Linked DNA regions of Homo sapiens: region 2 is linked to region 1. The links are contacts of gene promoters, found by promoter capture Hi-C in blood cells and fetal thymus (Javierre and others, 2016). All regions are on one chromosome and are shown on one strand. The core of a region is centred on a gene start or on the middle of the fragment in contact, and the rest is flanking DNA. Distances in the headings are between cores, read along the strand shown.

Evidence for each region. Contacts are between HindIII fragments. The CHiCAGO score rates a contact against its expected background, and 5 or more counts as called.
Region 2: a fragment that was not itself captured here is called in contact with the fragment with the promoter of AURKB in region 1 in 1 of 17 cell types (megakaryocytes); the score reaches 5.5 in megakaryocytes.

The regions. Positions count from the first base shown.
Region 1 is chr17:8,208,737-8,212,170 of GRCh38, reverse strand. It overlaps AURKB (aurora kinase B), which reads left to right and starts at 1,596. Exons shown (of 9, transcript NM_004217.4): 1 at 1,596-1,641; 2 at 1,922-1,994. The coding sequence starts at 1,947. RefSeq lists enhancers at 2,094-2,143, 1,705-2,364. The HindIII fragment of the contact is 9,276 bases long and covers 1-3,295 here.
Region 2 is chr17:8,325,737-8,329,263 of GRCh38, reverse strand. No RefSeq gene overlaps it. Among named protein-coding and RNA genes, the nearest start is that of ODF4, 12 kb to the left of the region's middle. The HindIII fragment of the contact is 1,610 bases long and covers 871-2,480 here.

The sequences.
Region 1 (3,434 bases), core at 347-2,846:
ATCACAGGCTTATGCCTGATCCAATAACCATAATCTGGAATAAAAGGTATTGATTAGTATAAGTTAATTGGGGCTCATTTCTGGACCTGCAATGAAGTCAGTTTCCTTCTCAAATCCTCAAAACTCTAAGTGCTTTCAGAAGTGGGAATAAAGCTGGGCGCAGTGGCTCACGCCTGTAATCCAAGCACTTTGGGAGACCAAGGCGGGCGGATCACCTGAGGCCAGCCTGAGCAATGTGATGAAACCCCGTCTCTACTAAAAATACAAAAATTAGCCGGGCGTGGTCACATGCACCTATAATCCTAGGTACTCGGGAGGCTGAGACAGGAGAATCAGTTGCACCCTGGAGGAGGAGGTTGTGGTGAGCTGAGATTGTGCCATTGCACTCCAGCCTGGGCAACACAGCGAATCTTCATCTCAAAAAAAAAAAAAAAAGTGAGATTTAAATAGGTCTTCATCAACCTAGGGATTTGGGGTTGTCAGCAACAGAAACTACTACAGAAACCGACTGCATAGACTGGAGAGACAGGTGGTCCCCTAAAGGAAAAATAGAGTGTTAGAAGAAAGGAGAAGAGTGCTGGACAGTACATACTTAATAAATATCCACTGGTTATTTCATAGAAGGCCCAAAAATGTATTTATTTAACCCAGTAATGAAATCTGAGGGTTAGGAAGAGCAGAAAAGAAGGAAGTGTGGCAGGAAGGAGGAAAAATGAAAGTGGGCCCAAACAACACGGCAGCTAACAGAGATCTTGCAACGAAAGGTCTATTGGTGGAAAAACTCCTCCCAGGAATGTCAGAACTTTTAAGAACGACATAGTAATGACACAAGAATAAACACACAGGCAAATGAGCAAACAACGGAATACAAAGTCTAGAAATAGACACAAGTAAATATGCTAACATTATATATCAAGGGCAGCATTTAAATTCTGTTGGGGCAGTTTGTTTAACAAATGGTGTTGACATAACTGGCGCTCCATCGGGCAGAGAAGTTAGACCCCAGCTCATACATGCATAAGGATAAACTCCAGTTACATTAAAGATTTAATTTTTTTTATAAAAAGAAGAAGGCCGGGCACGGTGGCTCACGCCTGTAATCCCAGCATTTTGGGAAGCCGAGGCGGGTGGATCACCTGAGGACAGGAGTTCGAGACCAGATTGGCCAACACAGCGAAAACCCGTCTCTAATAAAAATACAAAAATTAGCCAGGCGTGGTGGCGGGCGCTTGTAATCCCAGCTACTCGGGTGGCTGAGGCACGAGAATCGCTTGAACCCGGGAGGCAGAGGTTGCAGCAAGCCCAGATAGCACCATTATACTCCAGCCTGAGCGACAGAGAGAGACCTGTCTCAAAAAAGGAAAAAAAAAAAGAAAAGAAAAAGCAAGATAATTCACTGGGGGAATTTGGGGAAACTTTCCTAAACTGGAAGCCAAGCGTGAGCCCTTCTCATTCCGCCTCTTCCATTGGGTTCCCATGACTTACGTCACAGGACATCGAGCCAATGGGAACTAGGCATGGGCGACGAGCTTGCCCAATGGGGCCGGGGCGGGAGATTTGAAAAGTCCTTGGCCAGGGCGCGGCGTGGCAGATTCAGTTGTTTGCGGGCGGCCGGGAGAGTAGCAGTGCCTTGGACCCCAGGTGAGCTGGCCTCCTGTCGCAGGCCTTGCGCCGGGAGTGGGCAGATGATCAGGTAGATCAGAGGGTCCGTTGGGCTGGCCTGCGCGCACGCCGCAGGGCTGGAAGGAGGTAGGGACGATAGCAGGGCGGGGGCGGTGAGACCAGCGCCCAGATTGGGGCTAGTGTGCTGACCTGCTCCCTTTTACCAGCTCGGGCTAGCGCTTCCGGCTCGATCGGTCCAACCCCTCCCTCTCTCTCTCTTTTTCTCTGCTTCTCACGGCTGTTTCCCTTCTCCGCCCAGCTCTCCTCCCCCTTTCTCTCTAAGGATGGCCCAGAAGGAGAACTCCTACCCCTGGCCCTACGGCCGACAGACGGTAAGGCCCTTCCCTCCGTCCCTGCGCCCCCATGACCCCGCATGGCGAGTTCCTGCTGGGAAACTTGAGATCCTGCAATGAGCAATCCTTTAAGCACTTTCTTCCCCGTTATGCTCCAAAGTACGGGTCCCAAGTTTGACGACAGAACCCGCTCTGGTCATTTGTAGCCACATCCTGTCAGGTGCTGCCAACGTGAATCTGACCAGCCAGTGACTCCCAGCTGGTGAGGACCTCTGCAGGGCTCGTCACATACAAATGATATCTGGGACTGAGCAGGCAGGGCCTGGCCTTCAGGCCATGATTCCCAATCCATATCCTGAAAAAAAAAAAACTAGACAGCAAATAGAAATAGACTCTAAAAGGATATAAAGTTACAGTTTAAAAGGCCCAGGGCAAGTCTAAATTACAATTTGGAATTAATGACTAAATTGAGGTAAGAATCTAAATGGATCTAAATTGACTTATTTCCCAATGGTCCAGACAGATTTCATTGAAGGGCCTCCTCTCTGATTTGAAATGCCACCTTTATTATATATATAAATTCCCACATATATGTGGGTCTATTTCTGGACTGTATTTTATTCAACTTGCTTATTTGTAGATTGGTACCAATATCACTATTTGGGGCCTAGGGGCTTTCTTCTCTTGGCTGCAGAAGAAGGAAGGGGCCCTGCACAGGCTTTGCTCCCTGTTTTTGGAGCTCTTGCTTCCTGGAGAGTCTGTCTGTTCCCTTGTACATCAGCTCCCTCCCTCATGGAGCACTGAGTGAGGCTGTCAGGAATGGAGTCTGAATGAGAAACCATTGTCACTTTTACCTTAGTCACTCCTAAAAGAAAATGTACCTATTATTTTGAGAGTTGAAAGTGAGGCCAGGTAGGTGGCTCACGCCTGTAATCCCAGCACTGGGAGGCTGAGGCAGGTGGATCACCTGAGGTCAGGAGTTCGAGACCAGCCTGGCCAACATGGTAAAACCCCGTCTCTACTAAAAATACAAAAATTAGCCAGGCATGTGCCTGTAATCCCACCTACTCAGGAGGCCGAGGCAGGAGAATTGCCTGAACCTGGGAGGTGGAGGTTGCAGTGAGCCGAGATGGCACCATTGCACTCCAGCCTGGGTAATAGAGCGAGACTCCATCTCAAAAAAAAAAAAAAATGAAGAAGTTGAAAGTGAGAAGTGGTCCAGGGCCATCAGGGTAGCTCTTAGTGTCCTTAAAGCCTGTTCTTGCAAAAGTGTAAATCCTGGTTATTGCTATAACATTCAAGGCCTCAAGCATCTTATCTAAGCCTTAATAAACTAAGCTTTTTAGGAGACTTTGAGAATACCTCTGTGCTAAACCCCTTGAATTGTGGGTGTTCATTGACGCAGCTCTCTACTGTGGTGTAAGTGAGGGGCTGGATGAATGACTGTGTTGTTATGGACAGGACTTATACAGGTTGAAC
Region 2 (3,527 bases), core at 426-2,925, 120 kb before region 1:
GTGAGCCACCGCGCCCGGCCTGGTCTCGTCTTAAATAAAATGGCAAGCCATGATGAGGACCAAATTGAAGCAACTTTGGCGAAGTTACCTATTGTAACAAGCAGGCCGACTTGAGGTGGACCTGCCCACCTCAGATTTGCATCCTACCATTTGGGAATTCATTGCGTGATCCACAGAGTCTGAACAGGAAGGCACACAGGAGAGGAAGAGCTGCCAGTGAGATAAATGGCCTCTCTGGAATAGCTAAGAGTACAATTGTATTGTGGATTATCTGAATCAGTTAGGACTCTGTAGCTAATAAAAGAAAGGAGATTCAAACTGGTTTAAGGGATAAAGGGAATTTAATGACCTATAGAACTGAAAAATCCAGGCTGGTCTCAGTGGCTCGTGCCTGTAATCCCAGCACTTTGTAAGGCCCAGGCGGGCAGATCGCCTGAGGTCAGGAGTTTGAGACCAGCCTGGCCAACATGGTGAAACTTCATTTCTACTAAAAATACAAAAATTAGTGGGGCATGATCGCAGGCGCCTGCAATCCCAGCTACTCAGGAGGCTGAGACAACAGAATCACTTGAACCCAGGAGGCAGAGGTTGCAGTGAGCCAAGATCATGCCATTGCACTCCAGCCTGGGTGACAGAGTGTGACTCCATCTAAAAAAAAAAAAAAAAAAAAAAAATTAGCTGGGCATGGTGGCGCATGCCTGTAGTCCCAGCTACTAGAGAGGCTGAAGTATGAGAATAGCTTGAACCTAGGAGGCAGAGGGTTGCAGTGGGCCGAGATCGTGCCACTTCCTTCCAGCCTGGGCAACAGTGCGAGATCCTGCCTCAAACAAACAAACAAACAAAAATAACTGAAAAATCAAGATAAAAGCTTCAGATGAGACTTGATCCTGGAACTCAAGTGATGATAACAAGGACCTGGCTTTCCCCTTGTCTCTCCATTTCCAGTTTTGTGGTGTTGGCTCCTTCATCAGGCTGTATCCAGTGGCCTCCCCAGCAACTCCAAGCTGCCTCTCACTGCACTAAAATGGCAGCCACTGATCCAAACCTTATATCCTCACACTGCAATGTCCAGGGGAAGAGAGAATGGCTCATTCAAGTGGCTCTTGGGTGGGTCTCGAATTAACTGTCTCTGAACTCATTGATCCAAATTGGGACACATACCCATCTCGACCCAATCACAATAACCAAGGGTTGTCGTAAATCAAGGAAGAGTAGCTGGGCGCAGTGCCTCCCCTGTAATCCCAGCACTTTGGGAGGTCGATGGGGGTAGATCATGAGGTCAAGGGTTCAAAACCAGCCTGGCCATATGGTGAAGCCCCGTCTCTACTAAAAATATAAAAAATTAGCCGAGTGTGGTGGCGCACGCCTGTAGTCCCAGCTACTCGGGAGGCTGAGGCAGGAGAATCGCTTGAACCCAGGAGGCGAAGGTTGCGGTGAGCCGAGGTCACGCCACTGCACTCTAGACTGGGTGACAGTGTGAGACTCCGTCTAAAACAAAAACAACAACAACAACTCAGGGTCACTTTCAAATCCAATTTTTAGTCAATATTTTGTATTCTTTATTGTTAAGGTTCCCCAAAAGTCTGGATTCAATCCCAACGCTTTCTCACAGAGGGCAGCTTCAGGTTTCTAACAGTGGACGGAGTGAGAGAGGCTTCGGGTCAGCGGTGGTTGTGAGGCAGTTTGGGCGCAGCCCACGGCTTCATGCCCCGCGGCGGGGGCACGTGCAGGCACCAGCTTGAAAAACTCCATCGGGCGTGGAGCTGACCCATTCGGGTCCGAAGCCAAACCTAGTCGGATCAAGCAGCTGAACGCAGGCCCCGGGACCTGGTGACTGCCGTTGCGACCTCGAGAGTGCTGCGGGTGGGTGGGAAGGAGGAGTGGCTAGCTCTGGGGACGTCGGGCAGTGTTCTGAACAGCGGGAGCCAGTGCCTCAACTTCCCCAGGATTCTTCCGCGGGAGCAGCCCACTCCCATACTCCGCCCCGCGTGGGAGGCGAGCGCTGAGAACCAGGAGACACAGCCAGGCCAGGAGACCCCAGAGTCCAGCCAGAAGACGTGCTGAGACCCCGCTGCAGGAAGCCCTATGGCCGCGCTGCGCTCACTCACTGAGTCCGGGTCTCCGGCAGAGAGACAGGGGCAGCCCCGCGGGAGGGGCGGGCGCGGGGCCAGAGCGGGGCCTGGCCACGTCCGGGAGGATGAACGGAGCCCCGCTAAGGTCGGGAGGACTTCGAGGAGCTCCAGCGCTCTGTTCCCCTTGGTGTCGCCCGAGGCTGATGGAGGGTGGTGAGACCGTGGCTTGGAGACGACGTGCTGGGGAGCAAGGTCGGGAGCCCGCCAGGCTCGCGGTGGAGCTGTCGCTGGAGAGGCACTGCTGCACCGGGACGGTGGGCTGGTGGGCTGGCCACCCTGGAGAACCTGAGCCTGCAGTTACCTCTGTAGCTGAACCTGCGAGTATGGAGGGTTTAGGAAAGAGAAGCTTTCCGAGATGGCTGGAGAGCCAGCCAGGCTGAAGGGCTCCGGAAAGGATCACAGGAAGTGGGCTGGAGGGTTCCTTGCGGGTGGAAGGAGGAGGAGAGAGCTAGTGAGCAGGCTTGGGGGCCGGGGCGTGGGGGGAAGAGGGCGAGGCTCCTCTCTTTCCTCTGTTGCTTGTGGGCATGATTGCAACCCCCACCCCCGTTTATCTGCGATGTTGGCCACTAAGATCTTGACCCGGAGCCCACAGAAGGCCAGCTCAAAGAGAGGCCCGTGCCCTTTACTATCTGCCTTATCTTGTAGGAAAAGAAAAACTTTTTATCTGAGGGGGGCAAGGCTTTTAAAATTATCAGGCCCATAGAGAGGATCGCTTGAGCCCAGGAGTTCCAGACCAGCCTGGGCAACATGGCAAAACGCCGTCTCTACAAAAAATACAGAAATTAGTCGGGTGTGTTGGCTCCTGCCTGTGGTCCCAGCTACTCAGGAAGCTGAGGCAGGAGGATCGCTTGAGCCCAGGAGCTCGAGGCTGCAGTGAGCCAAGATCGTGCCACTGCACTCCCGCCTGGGTGACAAAGCCAAATCTTGTGACAAAAAAAAAAAAAAAAATCAGGGCCAGAGAGGAATTAAAATGAGACAACAGTGACATCCCATTACCCCCTTTGAGCTAGGTATTCACCTCTTTAACTGCTTGCATTGGCTTGCTCTTGCCATAAGTAGCTATGAATTAACCTGGTAATGCCACACTGGACACTATAACCCACCCCCTATAGCTTAACAGTATATAGCCAATCACTAATCAAAGAGCTTCCTTTAAACCAATGAGAATTCCTAACAACTTTGTATCAGCCCACAGCCCACTCCCTGTCCCCCTTTTTTGCCTTTGAAAACCTGCTTGTAACAAAGCCCTAATGGAGCTCATATCCAAGGTTACTTGGGTCTGAGTCTTCCTGGCAGCCGTCCTCCCTTTGTCTTTCGTTTGTTTTTTGTTTTTTGAGACAGAGTCTCGCTCTTGTCACCCAGGCTGGAGTGCAATCACGCGATCTTGGCTCACTG